Regions from separate parts of the Homo sapiens genome. Here all the other regions are linked to region 1. The links are contacts of gene promoters, found by promoter capture Hi-C in blood cells and fetal thymus (Javierre and others, 2016). All regions are on one chromosome and are shown on one strand. Each heading gives the region's core, a stretch centred on a gene start or on the middle of the fragment in contact. The rest is flanking DNA. Distances are from core to core; before and after follow the strand shown.

Region 1 (3,734 bases), core at 981-3,480:
AGACATACTCTCTGCCTCAAAGAGCCTACAATGTAACAAGGAAAGTAATTTATACTACCAACAAAATAAAACAAATGACTCTAGAGTGGAAGAAAGTAGCACATAAGTTCAGATAACAGAGCATTTCCTTCTGAGCAGAGTGATCAGAGAAAGCTTAGAGCAGAGCCTTTAAAGACACATTATTTCAACAGCTAGAAATAAAATAGACTGGGTGAATTATAACAGCTCCACGTTTGACTTAATCCATTTCAAAAACCGTAAGCTTGGCTGAATCACACGGTTCAAGAACAGGAAAGAAGGCCAAGGCATAGGGAGTGGGGCAGTTGGGTGAATATTAGTACCTTTCCCTCAGCTACATTAATTACCCCTGCCTACTCTGCAAAAAAGGATATAACAACAGTTTCCTTTTTAATGGTCCAGGTACAGCTGCTTATATGGATGGGCATTTGTAAATCAGATACTTCATCACTGTCTTAATCATCAGATACTTAAAAAAATCACTTTATTTGTTAAGGAAGATAAAAATGGCTGGGTTCAATTTCCGTTTTGGAAGAAATCGATTTAAAAGGTAACCATTTAATAATGCAAAGGGCAGTTTCACTGCAGACCCTAATACTGGAAATTTTTAAAAACAAATGAAAAACTTCTACTTTTTCTTCTAAGCTTACTTAACCACACCAAATTTTCCAGCCACATATCTTCCTAGTCTACAACTGCCTTTAACTTTAAGAGATGCTCAAAAAAATGTAAATTCTCAAATAGCATTCTTATTACAATTACTGCTAACCTGTCAGTATAGGTTGGCTTTAATATTTATAGCTTTCTGGTTCCTGATCTTCAAACAAAATAATAACTGGTACCAATTTTAACCAATAATAGTTACCAATAATAACTAGTACTCAAATATTGGGACACCTATATGTTTTCCTTCCTACTCACTTTGTGTCCTAATACTCTGAAGTAAATTCAAGATTAAATCAAAGGTTGGGCAATTTGCTCTGATGATGAAAAGGCAGCAGCTTTGGAGTCAAGTAGAGTGAGTGAGAAAGGGTCTATCACTAAGATTTCTTCCCCCCGCCCCCCGCCCCTTAGACGGAGTTTCGCTCTTGTTGCCCAGGTTGGAGTGCAATTGCGCGATCTCGGCTCACCGCAACCTCCGCCTCCCCGGTTCAAGCGATTCTCCTGCCTCAGCTTCCCGAGTAGCTGGGATTACAGGCGTGCACCACCACGCCCGGCTAATTTTTTTATTTTTAGTAGAGACGGGGTTTCTCCATGTTGGTCAGACTGGTCTCAAACTCCCGACCTCAGGTGATCTGCCCGCCTCAGCCTCCCAAAGTGTTGGGATTACAGGCGTGAGTCACCGCGCCCGGCTATCACTAAGATTTCTGTCTGTAAGCTGGGGAAAGCTACTTCATCTTTCCAGGCCTCAATTTCATCATCCATAAAACGGAGATATTAATAGCACCTACCTCCTAAAGCCATTGGGAGGATTCAATGAGATAGTGCATATAAAGTGCTGGCACAAAATGTGTACTTAGAACAAGTTTTCTTTCTAGAGTAGCTGATGTAATAAATCTGCTTACATCCTTTCAGACCTCACAACTCCCTATGCCTGCATTAACAACTGTTTAGTTCCAGGGAGGGCACGCTGGACACTTTCGGGTCCTGCGAAATATGTCACACTCTAAAGTTCTGGGAGGACTTTGTGGGTCCCTGGATGGAGGAGAAACCAGGAAGAGGATATGTCTGCATAGCAAAAAGAAGCTAGGGTTCCTCCTGACTGTAAGGGAGAAGGCTGACGAGGTGCAGGTCCTTGTGGGCAGGGCAGAGGTGAGGCACGGAGTTTCCTAACCCACGGGACACCAGGTTCAGATCCGTGTCCGAGGGTTCTGGCCCGGGCGCATGTCAGAGGAGAGTAGCCCAATTCAGGGTCCTGTAAGAAAACTGAACCGGATCCCCGCCGGAGAAGAAAATCCAGTTCGGGGGTTCCTGTTTGAGGGGAGAGGTCAGGTCTCTGGGTCCCCGAGTGAAGAAACAAGCTAGGTCGACATTCTTGTCTGATGGAGACACGGTGAACCCGGAGCCCGTGGAGTTACCTCATACCCTCACTCACCGAGGAGGCCGTGACGTCCAAAGGCTTTTTCCTACGGTCCATGGTCGTGGCAGAGGGTCCCGGTCCAGGAAGGACCCTTTCTACCCGACACAGGCCTCGTAAGCCTACCTCCGTCGCAACCGGAAGTGTCTTCGACAGCGACACTGAGTTTGCGTGAGTTTGCGACGCGAGTTTGTCAGCTCAGCGCCATCTTGAGAAGGTCAGAGTGTGGTGCGTATTACGTTCACCATCATTTTGGAAAGGTCATAGAGTGCGGAGGTTGACGCTAACTGCTAAGGTCATCTTGAGGGCGGAAGGTAACAAGGATTGGTGTGGGCGCCATCTTGAGAAGGGCGGAATAAAGCTTTTGATTGCGATGGACGCCATATTGGGTGGGGCGGATGTGGGGTTGGCGACAAAGATAACGCCATCTTGGGGAAGGCTGACGCTTAAGTAAGTGAACTCGAGCGTCTCGGGAAAGGTGGATTGGGAGGACCGGAAGAATCTTAACTGCAATTCCAGGACCTGCTGCCTGGCACTTTTCACACGTTAAATAGTTGGTTCTTAAAAGAGCGTACGAGATAAGGATTATTATATTAATCTTAGTAGAAATAACAAGAATAATAGCTAACATTAATGTAGTGCTTATTATGGGCCACTTTACATATTTCAGCTCTTAAGAACGTGAACTCCTGGGCCGGGCGCGGTGGCTCACGCCTGTAATCCCAGCACTTTGGGAGGCTGAGGCGGGTGGATCAGGAGGTCAGGAGTTTGAGACCAGCCTGACCAACATGGTGAAACCCCGTCTCTGCTGAAAATACAAGAAAAAAAAAAAATTAGCCGAGCGTGGTGGTGCGCGCCTGTATTCCCAGCTACTCAGGAGGCTGAGGCAGAAGAATCGCTTGAACCTGGGAGGTGGAGGTTGCAGTGAGTCGAGATCAAAAAAAAAAAAAACAAAGAACACGTGAACTCGAAAGCTGACTTTCTGGGTTGGAATCGCTCTTCACGGCTTACTGCTTGTGTGACCTTGGGCAAGTTACTTAACTTCCGTGTGCCTCAGTTTCCAAAGGGGGATATAATTTTATTTACCTAATGGGTCTTAGTGAGGATTAGATGAGTTAAATGAGCTAGTCTTGATAAAAATGTTAATGATTATGGTAGACAGACCAATCACCCTCACCCCGACTCCCAGATGTCTACCTTCTAATCCCCAGAATCTGGGTATATGGTGACCTTTATATAGCAAAAGAGAATTGGCAGAGATGATGAAATTAAAGCGATTGAGATGGGGAGCTAGCCTGGATTGTGCAGGTGGGTCCCCTATCATCAAAACCATCCTTATAAGGGGTAGACAGGATGGCCAGAGTCAGACAGAGATCAGAGATGCTTTGAAGAGGGAGAGTGGGACCACATGCCTAGGTATGCAGGAGGCCGCTAGAAAAAGCAAAGAAATGAGCCCTCCTCCAGAGTCTCCAGAAGGAATGCAGCATTGCTGACACGGTGATTTTAGTCTTGTAACACTCATCTCAAACTTCTGACTTCCAGAACTCTACCAGAATACGTTTGTGTTGTTTTAAGCCACCAAACTTGTGGCAATTTGTTACAGCAGCAAGACGAAAGTGATCATAATGATTGTAACAGT
Region 2 (3,478 bases), core at 979-3,478, 2.1 Mb after region 1:
TTTGATCCATGCAATTCATGCTCATAAAAATTACACGTCTTTTTTTTTTTTTTTTTTGAGACGGAGTCTTGCTCTGTCACCCAGGCTGGAGTGCAGTGGCATGCTCTTGGCTCACTGCAACCTCCACCTCCCGTGTTCAAGCGATTCTCCTGTCTCAGCCTCCGGAGTAGCTGGGATTATACAGGCGCACGCTGCCACGCCCAGCTGATTTTTTGTGTTTTAGTAGCGACGGGGTTTCACCCTGTTGCCCAGGCTGGTCTCGAACTTCTGAGCTCAGGCAATCCACCCGCCTCGGCCTCCCAAAGTGCTGGGATTACGGGCGAGAGCCACCGCGCCCAGCCCATGCCACTTATTTTTAAAATTCAGCTTATCTCATTCTTTATGGAATACATTCACGATCTGAACGTTATTATGTTCAAATATTTTAAAAGCGTAAAGTGAAAAGTCTCAGTCTCCTGTCAATTTAGTTCCCGCCTCTTCAAAACAAAAAGCAGAAACATTTTTTAAAACCTCAAAACCTGGCCACTGTTATCAAATTTGTATACATCTTTCCAGAATTTCTTTAAATATACACAAGTAAATACATATATATTATTTTCTCCTTTTTGTAGAAAAGATAACATAACGTACTGTTCTGCACAGCGTACATAATCAGTGGAGATTTTTCCATATCAGTACATAGAGCCTCTTCCTCCTTTCGTAGAACTGTATAGTATTCCGTTGTACGACTATGCCATAAGTTATTTCATCAGCCTTGTACTGCTGGTGCCCTTTAGGGTGTCTGTGCAAATAAAACACTGGATCGGGCACATGTTCTCAGGATCTCCTGAGGTCTGTGTCATGGGCAATATATATATATATTTTTATATTTCATATATATTTCATATATTTCATATATATTTATGAAAAAATAATACAACACTGGATCAACGACAGCCAGTGTGCACTTCCACAAGCTGTACCCAACAGCTTGGTTCCTGCCACTGTCATGGTACTTAGCACTTAGACTTTTCCCGAAGGATGCAAGCAGTCTCCACTTGGGGTTCTTCCGGCGTTATCTGGCGCTGGGCACTAAACACCAAGTCCTGCCCCACCCGGGACGTGGAACTCACTTTCCTCACCCCCAGGGAACCCGCGCTGGCAGAGAAGGCAGGGCCACTCGCTCCTGCCCGTAGCAGGGGCGCGTAAAACTGCGTCTGCTTGCTAACCACCAGCTCCCGTTCTCGCCCCTTAGGAAAAGCAACTTTGCTACCAAACACTCGGGAGAAAAAGGCTATCAGATAGAAGCGGGTGAAGAAGCTGAGAAAACAGAAGAGAAGGGTGGCTGCCAGCTCGGGACTCAAAATGGCCATCTGGGCGTAGAGACACAGAGACCCTTTGCGCAGACGTGCGCCGAGGGTCTTGCAAAGCTTTCGTTTTCTTTGTGTGCCGACCTGCCCCTAGAAGCGGTTTTCGATGCTATTTTAAATGATATTCCTAAAATTTCCGAATTGCTTGTTGCTTATATATAGAAATACACTGGATCTTTGTATACTGACTTGGGATTCAGCTCCATGCTAAATTTTGAATTAATTCTAATGGTTTATTTGTAGTTAGTTATCGATTTTCTATACACAATCACGCCATCAGCAAATAATGACAGTTTTGCTTCCTTTTCATCTTTGTATCTTTTATTTCTTTTCCTTGCCTTATTGCATGCACTGTCTACAGCCTTCAGAACAATGTTAAAGAGAAGTAGTAATAGTGTACATCTTATTTTGTTCCTGGATTCAATAAAAATATTTAATATTTTACTTTAAAATTATTTAATATTTTAATTAAAATGTTAGCCCTAGATTTTTTTAGGCTATCCATTGCCAAATTAAGAAAGTTTCTTTCTAGTTTTATTAGCATTTTTACCATGAACACATCTTGACTTTTATCACTTTTTTTTTTGCATGTATTGAGAAACCTATATTGTTTTTCCCTTTTATACTGGTAATGTATTGAATTATACTGATTGATTTTTAATGTTAACCCTACCCAATTGCTCAGGATAAACCCCACATGGCCATGATATATTTTCTATAAATCATCTATTTGTTAAAATTGTGTTTAGAATTTTTGCATCCTTGTGTATGAGAGATATTAGTCTGTAGTGTTCCTTTCTTATAATGTCCATGCCAGGTGCTGGTATCTGGGATATGCTGGTCTCATAAAATGAGTTTGGAAGTCTTTCTTTTCTATCCTCTGGAAAAGTCTGTGTAATATGGGTATTAATTTTTCCCTTAAACATCTGGAAGAATTTACCATGGAAGCCATCTCAGCCTGCAGTTTACTGTGCAGGAAGATTTTTTTTTTTTTTTTTTTTTTGGAGACCGGGTCTCACTTTGTCACCCAGGCTGGAGTGCCGTGGTGTGATCTTGGCTCACTGCAACCTCCACCTCCTGGTTTCAGCCCCTCAAGTAGCTGGGGCTACAGGTGTGCGCCAGGCATGCTCCACCACTCCTGGCCAATTTTTGTATTTTTTGTAGACAGGAGATCTCACTATGTTGCCCAGGCTGGTTTCAAACTCCTGAGCTCAAGAAATTTGCTCACCTTGGCCTCCCAAAGTGCTAGGATTACAGGCATGAGCCACCATGCCCAGCCTGCAGGATGATTTTTAATTAAAGATTTAAATGTGGGGCATGGTGGCTCACACCTGTAATCCTAGCACTTTGGGAGGCCCAGGTGAGCAAATCACCTGAGGTCAGGAGTTCAAGACCAACCTGGCCAACATGGAGAAACCCCGACCCTACTAAAGATACAAAATTATTCAGGTGTGGTGGTGCATGCCTGTAATCCCAGCTACTCGGGAGGCTGAGGCAGGAGAATCGCTTGAACCCGGGAGGCAGAGGTTTTGGTGAGCTGAGATGGCGCCATTGCACTCCAGCCTGGACGACAGAGTGAGACTCCGTCTTAAAAAAAAAAAAAAATTAAAAATTAAAAAAAATTAAAATATCTAATTGCTTTCTTATATATAAAGCTATTCAGATTTCATTGTTTTATGGGAGTTTTGGAAAGCTTTTTTTTTTGAGATGGTCTTGTTCTGTTGTTCAGGCTGAAGTGCAGCGGCACGATCTCAGCTCACTGCAACCTCCGCCTCCAGGGTTCAAGCAATTCTCTGCTTCAGCCTTCCAAGTAGCTGGGATTACAGGCGCCCACCACCCCGCCCAGCTAATTTTTTGTATTTTTAGTAGAGACAGGGTTTCACTATCTTGGCCAGGCTGGTCTTGAACTCCTGACTTGGTGATTCACCTGCCTCGGCCTCCCAAAGTGCTGGGATTACAGGCGTGAGCCACCGTGCCCAGCCTTCTTTGTTTTTTGTATCGGAGCATTTAGTCCATTTACACTAAATGTAATATAGCTGGATTTAAATGTATCATCTTGATTTTTTTTTCTTTTTTCTGAGACAGAGTCTCACTCTGTCTCCCAGGCTGGAGTGCAATGGTGTGATCTC
Region 3 (4,029 bases), core at 5-2,504, 2.2 Mb after region 1:
AGCAATGAACAGATTATGGAAAATTTTTTTTAAAGAACTACCAGTCTTCATTCAACTTGATCAATGCTGGAAAACAGTAAAAACTAGAACTTGTCCTCATCTGAGAAGAGGTCCCCAACCAGGAGGCAGCAGATAAGGAGCTCCATGCCAAAGCCCCATCTGATCCGTGCCTGAGTAGGGACACTATGCCACGCTGTGGCTACCTCTGGGAACGGGATGGGAGTGAGTGGGGAATTTTCACTTTTTTACCCATTACATTTCTGTAAATTACTTTTTTTGTTCCTTTAACAAACATGCATTGCTTTTACAACTAAAGACAAAAAAAATAGTCAATCCATTGAACCTACTTCATCACTGAAATAAAGGTTTGTGGGCAGGGGTGCTCCATCTGTCATTCTATTACCCTAACATATGGCTTTTGGGCACTAATTCAAATTGTACTTTTCCTACAACTGGACCAAACCGCAAGGAAAGAATACACATTGTTCATGGTTGGTGTGGGGGTATGGCTGGGATGGGGAGAAGGAAAGGACTGCTTGCTCAGGGTTGTCTGAAAGTAATCTTACCAAGGCTGCCTGCACTTACTTTCCCATAGAGCTGCTCAATGTCCTCCGCATTCCTCACAATCACATTGTTGTTAATCATTTCAGCACGGAATATCTTGAATTCTTTCAGAGGACCATGGTCCTGACCAAAAGGGATTGGCAATGGAGACTCGTAAGTCTCATACACTCTTCTTTTCCTCTTTGGGGCATGGAAAACTGCTTCTGCCATTTTTCAGAGGAGGTATTCTTTAAAGAGTAGACAACAAACAGAAAGAAACAGACAATCAATAACTACCTTGATCCAAAATGTGAGTACATCTGTACCTAGGCTCAGAAAACTTAGTGGTCTGTGGGAAGAAATAGAGTATTTATAAAGCAATAAACTAAAAGCAGTAAGAACAGTTTGTGTGAGCAATGTAAATCATATTGACCTAGAATACTGCAATTAATCCCCACAATAAACCCCAGGAAATGAGTGGTAATCTTTCTACTCCAGCTGACAACGCTGAGACCTAGTGACATGCCCAAAGCTGCAATGTTAGGTCTCCTGAGAGCAAGCACAACAGGATTTCTGTCTACCAGGAGTGCTTCCATTTCACTCACCCAACAGACATTTACTACCAGGAATTCCTAATAATCATAGGTGCTGGGGAGACAAAGACAAAACTGAGACCCTGTCCTCAACAAATTAAATCTTGCAGGCACTTCATTTTCCAAGAGGATCTTACAATACACACTAAACATTGGGTCAATCAGCTCCCAATTTTTAAAGTACATTAATAAATAATAATGACAGCAGCAGTTATTTAAGGGTCGATTATATACTACCAAATGCTACTGGCTTCAAGCAGGGACTCTAAAGCCAGACTATCAGCATCAGAATCAACTTTACCACTTCCTAGCAGTGTGATTTTGGGCAAAAGTCACTGACTCTCTCTGTGATTTAGTTTCCTCACCTGCAAAATCAAGATAAGAACGACTCTATCTTACAGTTAAGATCCATAAAGTGCTTAGAACAGTACCTGGCACATAGCGTGTACCATTCATGTATCAGCTATAATTAGTATTACAGGGTGAGCAGTAGCAACACCATTTTACAAATAGGAAACAGATTCAGGTTAGAGAGATTTGTAGACGACCCCGAGTGTGGTGGCATCGGGTGACCCAGGTCTGTTGAACTCCCAAGCCCATGCCCTCTCTCTAGATTCTGCTGAAAGCACAGGCAGGGTCTATCTACTTTTGTCTGATGACTCTTTCTCAAAATCAGACGGTGAAGGGTTATTGAGCAGTAACGGAATTACCCACTGTGCACCCAGCACCATGAGGGAGAACAGAAAGCCAAAGCCAGTACGTGTCCCTCTGGGGCCATACATTGGATCCAAGGAGACAAAACAAGTATATAACATAGCTGGAAGCACAGAAAGCAGGTTGGAGCTAACGGAACTGGCTGTTATCCACTAATGTCTAAAGGAGGGAAGTAAATGTGAACATATTGTGTGATGCAGACACAGAGATACAGTAGATGCACTTAACCTAGGAAAACGTAACCATATACATGGGAAAACAATGTAAATGGTGCAAGACATTCCACTCGAGGAGCAGCTGTCCTGGAATGAGATGGGAAACTTGAATCTGCTGCTCCCCCAGTACTAGGTCTAGACTTGATTTCAACTGAGAGCTTACCTGGTGCTTGAAGATACAGTGCGGCCAAATCATACACACGTTTAACCTACATGACTCCGAATCCTCACAAGGGAAAAAATAAGACTAATTACTTAGGTGGCTCCTGCACTCAGTACTTGCATCCCATTGGCAAGGGATGCCATCAAGCCTGAAACAGTCAAGAAGGTGGCCAAAACTGAGGGAGGGGAAGGTGAGTGGCTTTAAGAGTGTCATGACCATTAAGAAAAGGCTTATCCAACGTGTGATGATATCAGTATCCAACTTCTCAAGGAAGAAGCTGAGGAATTATATGAGGACACAGAAAAACACAGACTAAAGAGGAGTTAGAGGAAATGATACATCAATTACAAAGATAACCATGAAAAAGAAGAATCGGGAAGTTGGAACCTTCCTAGAATTGCCATTGTTCTAAGCAGCAACATGCTAGATTAATTTCTAAATAAGGTTCCTTGAAGGAATTACATACTGAGCATTACTTTGTACATTTTATATTTATGCATGCATCTTGCTGTATAGTGTTTATAACAAAACCACGTCTACTGCATGCTCACAGGAAACCTAAGAGATTTTCTTAAGAGCATATTTAGACTAGGCTTTACCTTGCTTGCTGACTTATCCCTCAGCCCAAGTACTAAATTATCACATTTAGTACTCAATTGGAGAGACAATAATTTATTCTAAAACTGAAAATAAACACTGCTTTTTGGGGGCAGGATGTTGGTCTCTAGTAAGGCACTTTTTGAAAGACTTCCAGGAATGGTTTGGACTTTTATGGGATTTTTCACTTTTATAACCTCTGCTCAGCAGCTGACTTATATACATTACATTCGGAATTTTAAAAAAATGAAAAAAGATTTAATGGCCACCTTCAAGAAGTTCTAATAAATTCTCTCAACAAATAAGAGTTGTATTTTAGTCTGCCTCATTTGTTCAGCGTTTTTCCCTCTCAGACTGCTGTCACATCTAAAAAAGGCAAGATTTAGCTGTGACACTTGATCGAAAGAACTCTGTACTCCAACCCAGGTGTGTGGGATGGAAGGGTCCCTGCGACAAAACACCCCTCATAATCCAAGTTCTTGTGTTACTCTTGCTCATGTGGCTGCACACCCCTCAGGAATTTGGCTCGCAGTAGGCCTTCCAGACATGCAAAGCCGCCATTATTATTGTGTGACCTTGCACAACCCACTTTCTCTAAGCCCAGTTTCATCTTCAAATCGAACAGGACTGGAGGAGTCTGGCAGTTCCTCAAAATGTCAAACACATAGTTACGACATGATCCAGCAACTCCACCCCTAGGTATAGACCTAAGAGAAATGAAAACATATGTTCATGGAAAAATTTGTATGTGAATGTTCACAACAGTATTATTCATAATAGCATCAAAGTGGAAGCCATCCAAATGTCCATCAATAGTTGACCAGATCAACAAAATGTGGTCTATCCATATAATCAAATACTTAGCCATAGAAAAGGAATGAAGTTCGGATACATTCTTCAACACCTGAAAGCATTATGCTAAAAGAAGTCAGACACAAAAGACCACGAGACAATTAAGATAAAGTTTCCGGAATAGACAAATCCATAGAGACAGATTACCAGTTGCCAGAGACAGGGAAAAGTGGGAAATGGGGGGGCGACTGCTAATAAGACAGGAGGTTTATTTTGGAGGGTGACGAAAATGTTTTAAAATTAGATTGTAGTGATGGTAATGGTTACATAACTCCGCGAATACGAAGACCACTGACTCGTACATTTCAGAAGGGTGACTTTTACAGAATTATATGGTATCTCAATAAAGCTA

The links. The method cuts DNA at HindIII sites, captures the fragments that hold promoters and counts their contacts. A CHiCAGO score of 5 or more calls a contact.
Region 2: a fragment that was not itself captured here is called in contact with the fragment with the promoter of CCDC174 in region 1 in 9 of 17 cell types (total B cells, total CD8 T cells, naive CD4 T cells and 6 more); the score reaches 14.7 in total B cells.
Region 3: a contact is called between a fragment that was not itself captured here and the fragment with the promoter of CCDC174 in region 1, in 9 of 17 cell types (total CD4 T cells, non-activated CD4 T cells, naive CD4 T cells and 6 more). The highest score is 18.8, in total CD4 T cells.

What each region holds. Positions count from the first base shown.
Region 1 is chr3:14,650,258-14,653,991 of GRCh38, reverse strand. CCDC174 (coiled-coil domain containing 174) reads right to left here and starts at 2,230. Exons shown (of 11, transcript NM_016474.5): 1 at 2,114-2,230. The coding sequence starts at 2,155. It overlaps LOC124909347 (a long non-coding RNA gene), which reads left to right and starts at 1,871. Exons shown (of 2, transcript XR_007095826.1): 1 at 1,871-2,323; 2 at 2,766-3,734. RefSeq lists enhancers at 1,918-1,987, 2,128-2,527, 2,031-2,689. The HindIII fragment of the contact is 1,793 bases long and covers 666-2,458 here.
Region 2 is chr3:12,551,891-12,555,368 of GRCh38, reverse strand. It overlaps a transcript of MKRN2OS not described here. Among named protein-coding and RNA genes, the nearest start is that of MKRN2, 3.5 kb to the left of the region's middle. The HindIII fragment of the contact is 1,633 bases long and covers 1,412-3,044 here.
Region 3 is chr3:12,486,546-12,490,574 of GRCh38, reverse strand. TSEN2 (tRNA splicing endonuclease subunit 2) reads right to left here. Exons shown (of 12, transcript NM_025265.4): 2 at 586-791. The coding sequence starts at 774. Among named protein-coding and RNA genes, the nearest start is that of TSEN2, 4.1 kb to the right of the region's middle. The HindIII fragment of the contact is 5,707 bases long and covers 1-4,029 here.